Regions from separate parts of the Homo sapiens genome. Here region 1 is linked to region 2. Evidence: promoter capture Hi-C in 16 types of primary human blood cells and fetal thymus (Javierre and others, 2016). All regions are on one chromosome and are shown on one strand. The core of a region is centred on a gene start or on the middle of the fragment in contact, and the rest is flanking DNA. Distances in the headings are between cores, read along the strand shown.

Region 1 (7,306 bases), core at 4,263-6,762, 570 kb before region 2:
TTGTAGCAGGCAAAAAGAACCCATTGGGTGGTTACAATGGTAGATAACAGGGCCCAGGACAGAATTCCTGCTGGGTGCATAAAAGCTATTGTCATTACCAACACCATCATCACAAGAATCTTACAAACACTGCTGTGGGGCGGCAGGGAAGAGACACCTCTGTGCAGTCTTTTGGATGTTTGTCAAAATATACAATGACTCTAACTCAGCAAGTACCGCCTCAGAGGGAATAGTTATGATTTTTACATGAAAGCACACCATAGTAACATTTGCCTACTTGATTTTATTTTATTATTTTCTTATAGCTGCATTTTTTTGTTTTTCTAAATTTATAAAATAATATATAATTATTGTATGCAACATGATGTTTTGAAATATAGATACATTGTGGAATTGATAGGGACAGGAGGTAGGGAAATTCTGGGCAGAAGAGGCCAGGTCCATCAAGCTGAAAATCTTGATACCACGGCCCAAAGTGAGAACTTACATCCCTGTTTTCCCACTCAAATGTTGCCTTTTCCAAAACCACCCGTGGCTCACCCTGCCCCCCATCCTATGCCCATAAAAACCCCAGGCTCAGCCGGCAGAGAGAAGAAAAGCAGCTGGACATTGGAGACTATGGTTGGATGTTGGAGAGAAGCAGGCTGACTTCAAAGGGACAGCTTGACAGCGTAGCTTTGGAGAGGATGGCCAGGGATGGCCAAACTTCAGGGGACGATTACCTTCCTGCTCCATCCCCTTTTCAGCTCCTCTTCCTGCTGAGAGCCACTTTCACCGGCAATAAAATCCCCTGCATTTACCATCTTCAATTTGTTTGTGTGACCTCATTCCTCCTGGATGCCAGACAAAAACTTGGGTGCCATGAGTGTGGGTACAAAAGGCTGTCGCACTGACCCTCCACTGAGCTGTTAACACTTAAGCTATGCATGGATGGCAAAGCTAAAAGGGCACTGTAACACTTCGTCAGGGGCTTCAGGGGTCACAGCACCTTCCCCTAGACACTGCCGTGGGGCTAGTATGGAATTTGCTCTTGCCAGCACCCAAAAGCCCTCACCCTGTCTCCTGCACCCACTCACCTGTGCTCCCCTCCCCATGAGGGGTGGAACAACAAGCGAGTGGAGTTCGTCCCTGACAGCGCCCATGTACTCTAGTTCCCATCCAAGAAGGGGTCAGGGAAATATCCTGCTTCAGAATGACTAAATCAAGCTCATTAACATATGCATCACTTCACATTGTTTTGTTTTGAGACAGGGTCTCATTCTCTCACCCAGGCTGGAGTACGGTGGCACTATCGTGGCTCACAGCAGCCTTGACCTCTTGAGCTCAAGCCATCCTCCCACTTCAGCCTCCCGAGAAGTTGAGACTACAGACGTGCACCACAACACCCAGCTAGTTTTTTGTATCTTCTGCAGAGATGGAGTTTCACCATGTTGTCTAGGCTGGTCTCAAACTCCTGGGCTCAAGCACTCCTCCTTGCCTTGGTCTCCCAAAGTGCTGCGATTACTGGTGTGAGCCATGGCACCAGCCTTAGTTATCTTTTTTGTGTTGAGAAGACTTAAAATCTACTCTTTAAGCATTTGTCAAGAATACACCGTAACTACAGTCACCAGGTTGTACAATAGATCTCTTGAACTTATTCCTCCTAGCTACCTGAAATTTTATATCCTTTGACCAACATTGCCCCACTCCCACCACCTGGCAACCTCAGCCTCTGGTAACCAACATTTCACTCTATTTCTATGAGACAACTTTTTTAGGTTCCATATATGAGTGGGATTATGTAGTATTTGTCCTCTGTGCCTGACTTATTTCACTTAATATAATGTCCTCCGGTTCAACCTTGTTGTCCCAATTGACAGGATTTTCTTCTCTTTTATGACCAAATAGTATTCAGTTGTGTATCTCTACCACATTGTACAAATCCGTTTATCTGTTGATGAGCACTTCAGTCGCTTGACTATTGTGAACATTGCTGCAATGAATATGGCAGTGCAGATATCTTTTTGACATACCAATTTCAATTCCTTGTGATGTATACTCAGTAGTGGGATTCCTGGGTCATATGGTAATTTTATTTTTATTTTTATTGATTTATTTCTTTGGGACAGGGTCTTGCTCTAAAGCCCACTCTGGAGTGCAGTGGCATGATCATAGCTCATTGCCATTTTGACTTCCCAGGCTCAAGTGATCCTCCCGCCTCAGCCCCCTGAGTAGGTGGGACCACAGGAATGTGCCACCACACCCAGCTTATTTATTTATTTATTTTTGAGACAGGGTCTGGCTTTGTTACCAAGCTGGAGTGCAGTGGTGCAGTCTTGGCTCACCGCAATCTCCATCTCCCAGATTCAAGCAATTCTACTGCCTCAGCCTCCCAAGTAGCTGGGACTACAGATGTGCGCCACTATACCTGGCTATTTTTTGTATTTTTAGTAGAGACAGGTTTCACCATGTTGACCAGGCTGGTCTCTAACTCCTGACCTCAAGTGATCTGCCTGCCTCAGCCTCCCAAAGTGCTGGCATTACAGGAGTGAGCCACTGCACCCAGCCACTAATTTATTTTTATCTGGAAAAGAAAAGAGGTTCATTTGGCTCAAGGTTCTACAGGCTGTACAGGAAACATGACATCAGCATCAGCCTCTGATGAGGCCTCAGGAAGCTTCCACTCATGATGGCAGGTGAAGGGGACCTGGTGTGTGGAGATCACATGGCAGGAAGCAAGGGAGAACTATTATTACTGTGGGGTCAGCACCAACACATTCATGAGGGATCCGCTCCCGTGAGCAAAACACCTCCCACTAGGCCCCACCTCCGACACTGGGGATCAGTTTGCAACCTGAGATTTGGAGGGGACAAATATCCAAATTATATCAGGTGGACAGTGTGGCTGAGGCTTTCCCTGCTTCAGACGGAATTGGACACAGGCTCTGGGAGAGAAGATACAAAGTGCCGAGACCAGCTCAGTCAGGGAGACCCTAACCCAGCGGCACTAGAGGAATTAAAGACACACACACAGAAATATAGAGGTGTGGAGTGGGAAATCAGGGTTCTCACTGCCTTCAGAGCTGAGAGCCTCGAACAGAGGTTTACCCACGTATTTATTAACAGCAAGCCAGTGATAAGCATTGTTTCTATAGATTATAGATTAACTAAAAGTATTCCTTATGGGAAACAAAGGGATGGCCAAAACAAAGGGATGGGTATGGCTAGTTATCTGCAGCAGGAGCATGTCCTTAAGGCACAAATCGCTCATGCTATTGTTTGTGGTTTAAGAATGCCTTTAAGCGGTTTTCCGCCCCAGGCGGGCCAGGTGTTCCTTGCTCTCATTCCGGCAAACCCACAACCTTTCAACATGGGCGTCATGGCCATCATGAACATGTCACAGTGCTGTAGAGATTTTGTTTATGGCCAGTTTGGGGGCCAGTTTATGGCCAGATTTTGGGGGTCCTGTTCCCAACACAAAGGGGTGAGGAATGAGGTCGAGTGTTCCAACACAGTTTTAGCAAATGCAGGTACAGACACCCAGGGTGGGTGTAACTGAAACGCATGCTTCATGGAGATGCACTCAGCTGAGATGCCTGATGTGTGTGGGGAGGGTGGGTGCAGGTTAGCCTGAGCATGGTGGCAGCGTGGGATTCGGACACAGAAATGATTTGCAGGAGTCAGAGGAGGGTCGGTGTGCTAGTAACCTACTGCTGCACAACAAATTATCCAAAAACGCAGAGGCTTAAAACAACATCCTTTTATTATCTCTTCGTTTCTGTGGGTCTGGAACCCAGGCACGGCTCTGCTGGGTTCCCTGTTTCATGGTCTCTCCCAAGAATGCCATCAAGGTGCCAGCCAGGACAAATATCTCATCTCATGGCTCAACTGGAAAGGGGTCACTTCCAAGTTCATTCACTTCATACAACCTGTCGGACTGAGGGCCTCAGTTCTTCCCCGGCTTTTGGCCTGAAGCTGCTTTCAATTCCTTCCCTCTTGGGCCTTGCAGAACGGAGAGCTTGCTTCATTAAAGCAAGCAAACCAAGAAGGCAGTTGAGTTTGCCATAAGACAGAAGTCACAATCTTTTGTAATCTCATCATGGAAGCCACCTCCCACCACCTTTGCCATATTCTTTGGGTTAGAAGCAAAGTCATAAAGTCGGGCCCACACTCAAGGGAAGAAAATGACACAAGGGCACCCAAACAGGAGGTGGAGGTTGTTGGAGGCCCTCTTAGAAGTCTGCCTAACACCAGTGGGGAGGTCCCGAGAGAAAAATATCTCAAACTACCCTCCCCCCGGGTCTGGACTCTCCTTGAGAACTATTTAAAGAGAGAATCTTTTAAGGGAATTAAGTGGCAAAGAAAAAAAGTTATAAAAATGCTAATACTCCAAAAACTTTCTGGGGAGTTCCTAATGGTTTATAAGCACTGTGCTTAGTTTCTTACGAGACTGCCTTTTAAAAATAGTAATTAATGGGCTGGGCGCGGTGGCTCGCATCTGTAATCCCAGCACTTTGGGAGGCCAAGGCGGGCGTATCACCTGAGGTCAGGAGTTGCAGACCAGCCTGGCCAATATAGTGAAACCCCATCTCTACTAAAAATCCAAAATATTAGCTGGGCGTGGTGGTGGGCACTTGTACTCCCAGCTACTCAGGAGGCTGAGGCAGCAGAATCACTTGAACTCAGGAGGCAGAGATTGCAGCAAGCCACGATCGTGCCACTGCACTCCAGCCTGGGCAACAGAGTGAGACTCCATCTCAACAAAACAAAACAAAAAATAGTAATTAATGGAAAACAGGTAATTCACCTGTAATTTATCAAAACCAAAGCTTCCTCACCCCAACCCCTACACAGGGTCAAATTCAGTGTTTTGTCCTCGGGAAAAACCTGACAGTGTTCTAGTTGTCTTTTGCTGCACCACAATCATCCCAAAGTTTCACAGCTTAGAGCGATGTGGGGGTTTTTTGGTTTGGGGTTTTTTGTTTGTGTGTTTTTTAAGACAGAGTCTCAGTCTATCACCCAGGCTGGAGTGCAGTGGTGCAATCACTGCTCACTGAAGCTTTGACCTCCCGGGTTCAAGCGATTCTCCCGCCTCAGCCTCCCTAGTAGCTAAGACCACAGGCTCATACCAACACACCTGGTTAATTTTTTAATTTTTTGTAGAGACAGGGTTTTTCCATGTTGTCCAGGCTCGTCTCAAACTCCTGGTCCCAAGCATTCATCCCATCCCAGCCTCCCAAAGTGCTGGGATTGCAGGCACGAGCCACTGCTCCAGAATCAAAGCAATGTTTATTCTGCTCACGAATCTACAACTTGGATAGGACTCACTGGGGCTCATGTCTGCTTCACTCAGCATCAGCTGGGCCACTTGAAGACAGGGGACTGGAACCTTCTGAAAGCTCTCTCACTTACAAGTCTGGCAATTGATGCTGGCTCTCAGATGGGGCTGTGACCAGGATACCTACAGGTGGCTTTTCTGTGCATCTGCTTGGGCTTCCTCACAGCATGGAGACTGGGTTCCGAGGATGAGCACCCTGAGAAAGAGAGAGCCAGGCAGAAGTTATCCCCTTTTATGACTTAGCCTTCAAAGTCACCTGGGGTCACTCCTGCCACAGTCTCAGGCCTGCTAGATTGAAGGGATGGGAACATAAATCCCATATCTCCATGAAGGAGATCAAGTCATCGAGGTCATTGTAAGGAGGGCATGTGGCATAGGATATATCCGTGCATTCACCTTTGGAAAATACAATCAGCCACAGAGAGCAAACAACCCCACCACCATCCCACCCCTGAGCTTTCACGGGTGTCAGTGACAACAAGCATCGTAGGATGAAAAGAAGTCAGCAATCATGAAAAAATAAAGCAGCAAGAAGTACAATCCTTTCCACCTCGTCTCCCATGAGAGCAGGAGGTTGGGAATGAATCCATCTCCCTGAACTAGAGAAGAGACGTGCAAGGTCACTGGGCCGAGCCTGTGGGTTTGGGTTTCTCAGCTGGCCTGTTACGATGAAGCTTGTTCTTGTCTATTGCTGCACACCAAATTACCATAAATTTAGCAGCTTTAAACAACACCCGTTTATTATCTCACAGTTTTGTAGGTCAGGAGTCCAAGCAGGCTTGGCTGGGTTCTGCTCCGGTCATTACAAGGCTGAAATCCAGGTGTCCGCCAGAAATTCTGTTAGCCAGGGCTTCTATCATCAGTTCTTCTCTGCAGGGCGCTGCTAGGGAGGTCCTGACCACCAGAGGGCACTAGAACCACAATCCCGGTCCCAGGGAACTTTGCTTGTGCTCCCGCCCCTTTCTGTCAAAATGCTGTCCGGCCACCAGCGGCAGCAGCGTCTGGGAACTTGTTTGAAAAGCAGAACCTCAGGACTTAAAACCAGACCTGCTGAATCAAAATCTGCATTTTGTCAACTCCCCCACCCAGGCAATTGGTGTGCACCCTTGAGGGCCAGGCTGTAACTCAGTGGTTCTCTACCTTGGCTGCGTGTTAGAACCACCAGAGGAAGTGTGTGTGTGTGTGTGTGTGTGTGTGTGTGTGTGTGTGTGTGTGTGTTTGAGATGGAGTCTCCCTCTGTCGCCCAGGCTGTAGTGCAATGGCGCGATCTCTGTTCACTGCAACCTCCGCCTCCCGGGTTCAAGCGATTCTCCCTCCTCAGCCTCCAGAGTAGCTGGGATTACAGGCTCCCACCATTACGCCCGGCTAATTTTTGTATTTTAGTAGAGACGGGGTTACACCATGTTGACCAGGCTGGTCTCGAACTCCTTACCCCAAGTGATCTGCCCAGCTCGGCCTCCCAAAGTGCTGGGATTACAGGTGTGAGCTACCGCGCCTGGCCCAGAGGAACTTTTAAAATCCCTGATGCAAGGGACTACCCCCAGAGATTTTGATTGCATTGGTCTGGGGTGCAGCCTGCTGCCCGGATTGTTAAAAGTTTCCCTGGGGATTTTACTGTGCAGTTAAGGTTGAGAAGGGCTGCAAGCCTGGGTCATTGCACACTGTAAGAACCTTGTGTATGAATGGAACTGTGCTATGGAACAACTCCACACCACCTGTGTGTGTAGGCATAGGAGAAACACATAAACCCTGACCCTCAAGGGTCTCCTGGAATGCAAGACCTCAGCCCTCAGGGGCCTTCAGATAAAGGTGCGGTCAGGGCAAACATGGAACACCAAGGACGTGTGATATTATTTTCCAGGTGCTTCAAAGACTCAAGTCAAACACCAACTGCTCAGATAGCAAATTCTAGTTCACCCACCCCACCCATGCTCAGTGATGGGGCTCACGGCAGTTTCCTGTAAGTGTTTGCTGGGCTCGCCTTTCTAA
Region 2 (6,835 bases), core at 4,336-6,835:
CACCTCCGCTAGCTAGCTGGGTGACCTTGGGCAAGGAACCAAACTTGCCTGAGCCTCAGTTCCCCGCTGTATCTGATGGGGATGATGAGCAAACCCACCACAGCGGTAGCTGGGAGCACGAATGGAGTGAACATGTGTTTGTGGACACTTAAACGGGCACTTCCCACAAGGCCATGGCCTTGCACGGAGGGCTCTGTCAACTGGTACCACCACTGTTGCTCTGGCATTAGCAGGTACAGGCCCTGATAGCCATTCAGAACTTCCTTTGAATGAATGAATGGAATCCTCAAAACAGCCTGGTGGGCAGGAGGCTGGGGCCCATGACAGCCTTGGGGAGGGCCTGGGGTCTTCTGGGGGCACAGTCTTTGCCTCAGGCCAACTCAGCAATTGTTGCAGAGGAATCGCAAGTGTCCCTAATTTGGAAGGCAGGAAATGGGGGGTATCTGAGAAGAGCTCGTTGGGCCAGATGATGGAAAGTGGACTGACAGAGCAGGAGACAGGAAGAGGATAACCATGCATGTGTGATGGCTTTGCAGGGCAGCCCATTCATTCATTCATTCAGGCAGTGGAAACAGGAGTGCAGACCCGAGGTGGGACCAGCCACCTGCACTCCAGCAGGCTCTCCCTCTCACTCCCCTCCCCTCTGCCCTGACAGCAGTAAAAAAATGCAAAAAATGACAGCGGTAGCACTTCCTCATCGGGTTGTGAAGGTTACATGAGTTTAATGCAGGTAAGGCACTTAGAATATGGGCACAGGACAGGTGTTCAGTAAACACGTATAAAATGGCTAACTAAAAAAAAAACACGAGGCCAGGTGCAGAGGCTCATGCCTGTCATCCCAGCACTTTGGGAGGCTGAAGTGGGGATCACCTGAGGTCAGGAGTTTGAGACCAGCCTGGCCAACAGAGCAAACCCCGTCACCACTAAAAATACAAAAAACAACAACAATAAAAAACTAGCCAGGTGTGGTAGCGCATGCCTGTAACCCCAACTACTCGGGAGGCGGAGGCAGGAGAATCGCTTGAACCCGGAAGGTGGAGGTTGCAGTGAGCCAAAATCGTGCCACTGCACTCCAGCCTGAGTGACAGAGTGAGACTCTGTCTCAAAAACAAAACAAAACAAAACAAAGAAAACCCATGAGGCCAGGCACGGTGGCTCACACCTGTAATCCCAGCACTGTGGGAGGTCAAGGATCACTTGAGCCCAGGGGTTCTAAAGCACCCTGGGCAACAAAAGTGAGACCCCATCTCTACAAAAAAATTTAAAAATTAGCTTGGCATGGTGGTGTGCGCCTGTAGTCCCAGCTACTCGGGAGGCCAAGGCAGGAGGATGGCCGGAGCCAGGAAGATCAAGGCTGCAGTGAGCTCTGATTGCACCACTGCACTCCAGCCTGGGCGACAGAGGAAGACCCTGTCTCAAAACAAACAAACCCCACAAACATTGATTGAACCCCCCATTGAGGGGAGCAGGCTCAATGGCAAAGGAAACAGACCGACACTGGCCAAGAATCACAGAAGCAAAGCACCCGGTTACTCATGATAAACCTGGGAAGGAAGAAAGTGGAACAGTTTATTCACTTAATGCTTGTTTGCTAAAGCCAAGTAGAAAACGGCAATACTAGATGTTTAGTGTGCTTCAAATACAAATGTTTGTCAAAATACCAAGTAAAAACATAAATTTATAAAACAGGAAACCAGAAACCTCCCTTACCTTTCCAATGTAAACCATGAGCCACTGCTGCCCCAAGGCTGCCTCAGGCTTCAGGAGTCCTCCAGGAGCTTTTTCTTTAATGCAGTGTCTGTTTTCAGGGACCCTCCTGGCCTTTGGCAGCCAGCTTCCTATTGCAGGAGCTGAGGGTCTAGGAGGGTTCATGGCGAGGTTGTCAGAGCTGGGAAGCAGAAAGCAGCCGGGCAGGCCTCACAGTCACAGAGTCCACGTCCCGGGCAGCATATGGAGAAAGGGTCTGGGCTGGCTGACAGCAGTCAGCATTGGCGCCTCTGAGGAGGTTGAGGGCTGAGTTGGGGAGGTCACCACCTGTACCCAGGCATAACAGGGGTGGTGCAATCAGCAAAGGGAAAGTGGTCTGAAGTGGGGCAGTGGTGAAAAGCTAGGCCAGCGGGGTGGAGCCCATCTGGAACAAGTAGGTGTGTGGGGTAGGGGACGCAGGTGGTTGCAGGTGGGCCGGTACCTGCTCAGCCTGTCAAATGGTGAAAGCCATGGACTATGAAGGTGGGGCTCAAGCAGGGGAGACTGACTCAGCCCTGCCACTTCCCCACAGCAAAGAGCCCAAACAGATCCCCTGGAGGGCTGTCGGGAGCCCCTACGTGGTGGAGTCCACAGGCGTGTACCTCTCCATACAGGCAGCTTCGGTAAGCTGGGGAGAGGTGCCCAGGGCTAGCTGGGGGGATGATGGTGCCAGAAGCCCCTGACACCTGCGCTTCCTCCCCAGGACCACATCTCTGCAGGTGCTCAACGTGTGGTCATCTCCGCGCCCTCACCGGATGCACCAATGTTCGTCATGGGTGTCAATGAAAATGACTATAACCCTGGCTCCATGAACATTGTGAGGTAATGTGGGCAGTGACATCCTGCAATGTGTGGAAGGGAGGGTAGACTCGTCCTCCCCACCCTCAGCCCCACTGGATTCCTGGTCGCTTGGCTTCTGCTTCTCCTTCCCGAAACTATCTGCTAAAAACGCATGACTTCCAGAGGACAAGCTTGGGGAGCCTCCCCAGCTGCACCTCAGTGCCTCCTTCAGTCTGACAGTGTCCCCACAGATCCCTCTCACCCTCATCCTGACGTTTCATAAAACCAAGTCTGCGTGCATACCCCAAGAGGGGTAAGGGTGGAGGGGTGGCTCTGCGACTCACCTCACAGTGTCCGTGCACACCTTGGCTGTTTCAGCAACGCGTCCTGCACCACCAACTGTTTGGCTCCCCTCGCCAAAGTCATCCACGAGCGATTTGGGATCGTGGAAGGGTTGATGGTGAGTTGAGGATGAGGGGCTGGGGCAGGAAGGATGGCAGGGAAACCCAACTTCTTCCCGGGCCTTGCTTACTGTATGGAGTTAAGAGGGAGAGACTGGTTTCGGGAGGAGAGGCCCACCAGTGCAGAAGTCACTTAAAACACTGTGCAACCCTCAGGCAAGGCTGGACCCTGGCCTGCACACATCCCCTCCTGTGGTCTGTGGTGGTGGCCCCACCAGCCTCCACACCTAGGCCACCAACTTAGTCCTGGAAAAAAGAGGCATGGGAGCTTAGGAGCATGAAGGCCTCATCTTGGTCCTTCTCTTCCCCAAGACCACAGTCCATTCCTACACGGCCACCCAGAAGACAGTGGACGGGCCATCAAGGAAGGCCTGGCGAGATGGGCGGGGTGCCCACCAGAACATCATCCCAGCCTCCACTGGGGCTGCGAAAGCTGTGACCAAAGTCATCCCAGAGCTCAAAGGGTATGAGGACAAGAAGCTGCAACCAGGGTGGGGGCATACGCCAGGAGGACTGGACTGGCCCGGCCCTCAGTCCTTAAGAGGAAAGCAGGGGCCTGGCCCAGCCACAGGGAAAGGGGGAATGGAGGGCAACGTCCCTAAGTTCTGACTCCTGTTCCTCATGGGGGATTCTCCAGGAAGCTGACAGGGATGGCGTTCCGGGTACCAACCCCGGATGTGTCTGTCGTGGACCTGACCTGCCGCCTCGCCCAGCCTGCCCCCTACTCAGCCATCAAGGAGGCTGTAAAAGCAGCAGCCAAGGGGCCCATGGCTGGCATCCTTGCCTACACCGAGGATGAGGTAGGGGCTGAGGAGAGGAGACCCTGGGAGGAGCCCTCTGGGAAGGGACATGATTTCCACTTGCCAGGGAGCTGCTCTCAATGTGCCAAGTCAGAAACTGCAGGGCAGGAAGGGAGATCTCCCTGCCTCAGGGCCTTTGCACTTGCTGTTCCTTTAGTCTGGAATGCTTCCCTTGCCAGGTGACCATACAGTCTGTCCTTACTTCCTCCAAGTCTCTGGAGGAACCTCCCTCTTCAGCAAGGCACCCCCTCAAAATATGTTCTTTTTGTGGCCATATTCCTCACCTGAAATTTCATTTCATAGTCACTGTTGGCCCCAGTGGTGTGTGCACTCCAAGAAAACAGGGATTTAGGGGCTGCCTTTTCACTTTTGTGGCTCCAACCTGGCATACAGCAGGTGACTAATACATGCTTAGTGAACAAAAGACAACAGCTCCCATTTTTTTCAATACTTGCTCAGGGCCAGGCCATGGCCAGATGCCTTCTCTGTGAGGAGTGGATGCCATGGTCATGGTGGACCCCTGTACATCCACCTTGGTGCTGTCTCCCTGCATTAACTCCTGCAGGTCCACTTTCCCACAGTCACTGGGATCTTTTGTTTTAATGGAATCACATTGCATCACCCGTTTTCAGGATTGAAAACACTCCTGTGGCCTTTCATGACACTAGGGCTAAAACCCTCAGGTCCTCCCTTCCTGCAGCTCCTTCTACCTCAGACACTGTGCTGAGGGCCCCAGCCGGTCAGATCTTTCTAGTCATCTAGACCCAGGCTCATGGCCACCCCTCAGAGAGGCCCTCCATGCTGGCCCATTCCAAACGCTTGCATTATTCCTAGGAAAGGGATGTACTGGTACAGCATGAGGGTGTTTGTGACCTGTGCCCTTTGGCCAGACCCTGACACAGTGCCTTGGTCATACCCTGCACTTGGTCATACCCTCCAGTCCAGAGACTGGACACAGTAGGGCTACATCAAATATTATAGATGAATGCATGGATGGGCGATAGAGTTAAGAGTCGGGGCCTCAGCTCCTGGAGGTCCTTGCTCTGCCGGACACACTTATCTTTGAAATTCTGACTTCCAGGTCGTCTCTACGGACTTCCTCGGTGATACCCACTCGTCCATCTTCGATGCTAAGGCCGGCATTGCGCTCAATGACAATTTCGTGAAGCTCATTTCATGGTAAGGGGGAAGGAGCTGGAGACTTAGAGGGAGGGGAACTAAGGGGTGGTCGGAAGGAACCCCCTTGAACCTCCCGACCCCTCCTCCACAGGTACGACAACGAATATGGCTACAGTCACCGGGTGGTCGACCTCCTCCGCTACATGTTCAGCCGAGACAAGTGAAACGGGAAGGTCCTTTCTTTCCTTCCCAGGGGCCGGGGCCGGAACATGTGCCTCCCGTTCCAGCATCTGGCTGCCCGGGGGAGGAAGGACACCCGGGGCGGGCGCCCCACGCCGATGGGTCCATGGTGAAATAAAAAACAGTGCTCACGGCTGCGTCCCGTATCTCTGCGCCGGTCAGGGCGGGTTCTGATCCGGGTTTGAGGCCCGCCCCACCCTTACTCGATCGCCTGCGCCCACGGGCGAGGGGTCGCGCTCGACTCCAAGCCGGGTTCCACTTCAGGAGACCGGGACCGCGATGGCAGCGGTAGAGGCCCCGCATGGCCGGAAGTCACTCCCCAAAGCGCTGGGCCGGCAGCGGTGGGACCCAGGGCCGGCCACGGGCTCTCTGACGTCACTGGGCGCGACGCCCCGCGCCGGGACTACTGCTCCCAGAAGGTCGCGCGCGGGCCCCCGCCAGTCAGGTGGGTGCCAGGCCCTGGCCGTGGCGAAAGAGCCGGCGGAGCCGGAGACCCGCTCCCGGAGACGCCGCCTCGCGATCCCCGCGCGGGCGGGACCGGGCGGCCGGCATCATGACCCTGTTTCACTTCGGGAACTGCTTCGCTCTTGCCTACTTCCCCTACTTCATCACCTACAAGTGCAGCGGCCTGTGAGTGCGGGAAGGGCGCGGGGCGGAGAGGGCGCGGGGCCCGGGCCGACCCTCACCTCCCGCTTCTCCAGGTCCGAGTACAACGCCTTCTGGAAATGCGTCCAGGCTGGAGTCACCTACCTCTTTGTCCAACTCTGCAAGGTGAGGGCCACCGGGAAGCCACGTGTTCTGGCCCCCAGGCTCTGCAGACCCAGGGACCCGCCCCCGTTGCCTATCCGCGCCCCCGCCGCCCCACGGTGGGACCGCCCTCGGGACTCCGCACTGGGAGGCGTCAGGATACCTAGAGAGGATGGACTTTAAAGAGGGCACGACCTGAGAAGAGACCTAGAAGCAACTTTTGCGTAGCACTTAGTAAAACTGAGAAAACCTCAGTAGTGTGGTTGGCTAACAGGTTTTTTTTGGTGCGGTTAAGAGTGATCACTGATTCCGTACGTGCTGCTAACACTGCCCAAGGAGCAGCACCTTCAGACCTGACTCAGATGCCCTGTGATCACCCAGAACTCAAACTTCCAGCCCCCTCGGGGACCCGGGGACCTATCCTCTATCTCCCCGATTCCTGTAATTTTGCCACCATCTGGTGGTTCCTCTTCCAGATGGGCCCCCAGAACCTGTCCTGCCCTCTTCCTACCCACGAACTTCCCACAAATCCCACGTGGTTTATCTTGATCCCCTCACCTTGAAGTGACCTCTTTCTGCTTTCTGTTCTCAGATGCTGTTCTTGGCCACTTTCTTTCCCACCTGGGAAGGCGGCATCTATGACTTCATTGGGGTGAGAGGGGCCAGGGAAGGGAAGGGAGTTCAGGAATGGGGCTCCCTGTCCCCCTGTGCTTACTTAAGCCTCAACCTGACCCGCAGGAGTTCATGAAGGCCAGCGTGGATGTGGCAGACCTGATAGGTCTAAACCTTGTCATGTCCCGGAATGCCGGCAAGGGAGAGTACAAGATCATGGTTGCTGCCCTGGGCTGGGCCACTGCTGAGCTTATTATGTCCCGGTGCGTACAGCAGCCTGGAGCCCAGACCCCTGAGAAGGGACACCTGGGTTCCACGGGGGTGCTGGAG

The links. Contacts are between HindIII fragments. The CHiCAGO score rates a contact against its expected background, and 5 or more counts as called.
Region 1: a contact is called between a fragment that was not itself captured here and the fragment with the promoter of TMEM147 in region 2, in 1 of 17 cell types (naive CD8 T cells). The highest score is 5.5, in naive CD8 T cells.

What each region holds. Positions count from the first base shown.
Region 1 is chr19:34,967,117-34,974,422 of GRCh38, forward strand. LOC124904700 (a long non-coding RNA gene) reads right to left here and starts at 6,511. Exons shown (of 2, transcript XR_007067237.1): 1 at 6,068-6,511; 2 at 5,250-5,513. LOC124904699 (a long non-coding RNA gene) reads left to right here. Exons shown (of 2, transcript XR_007067236.1): 2 at 575-804. The HindIII fragment of the contact is 953 bases long and covers 5,037-5,989 here.
Region 2 is chr19:35,540,041-35,546,875 of GRCh38, forward strand. TMEM147 (transmembrane protein 147) reads left to right here and starts at 5,586. Exons shown (of 7, transcript NM_032635.4): 1 at 5,586-5,776; 2 at 5,848-5,917; 3 at 6,486-6,545; 4 at 6,632-6,768. The coding sequence starts at 5,700. GAPDHS (glyceraldehyde-3-phosphate dehydrogenase, spermatogenic) reads left to right here. Exons shown (of 11, transcript NM_014364.5): 5 at 2,279-2,369; 6 at 2,450-2,568; 7 at 2,905-2,986; 8 at 3,300-3,451; 9 at 3,625-3,787; 10 at 4,869-4,966; 11 at 5,058-5,279. The coding sequence ends at 5,130. It overlaps TMEM147-AS1 (TMEM147 antisense RNA 1), which reads right to left and starts at 5,989. Exons shown (of 4, transcript NR_038396.1): 1 at 5,897-5,989; 2 at 2,871-3,233; 3 at 1,711-2,034; 4 at 698-1,544. RefSeq lists enhancers at 93-592, 2,987-3,488, 5,203-5,895 and a silencer at 5,588-6,167. The HindIII fragment of the contact is 5,741 bases long and covers 2,716-6,835 here.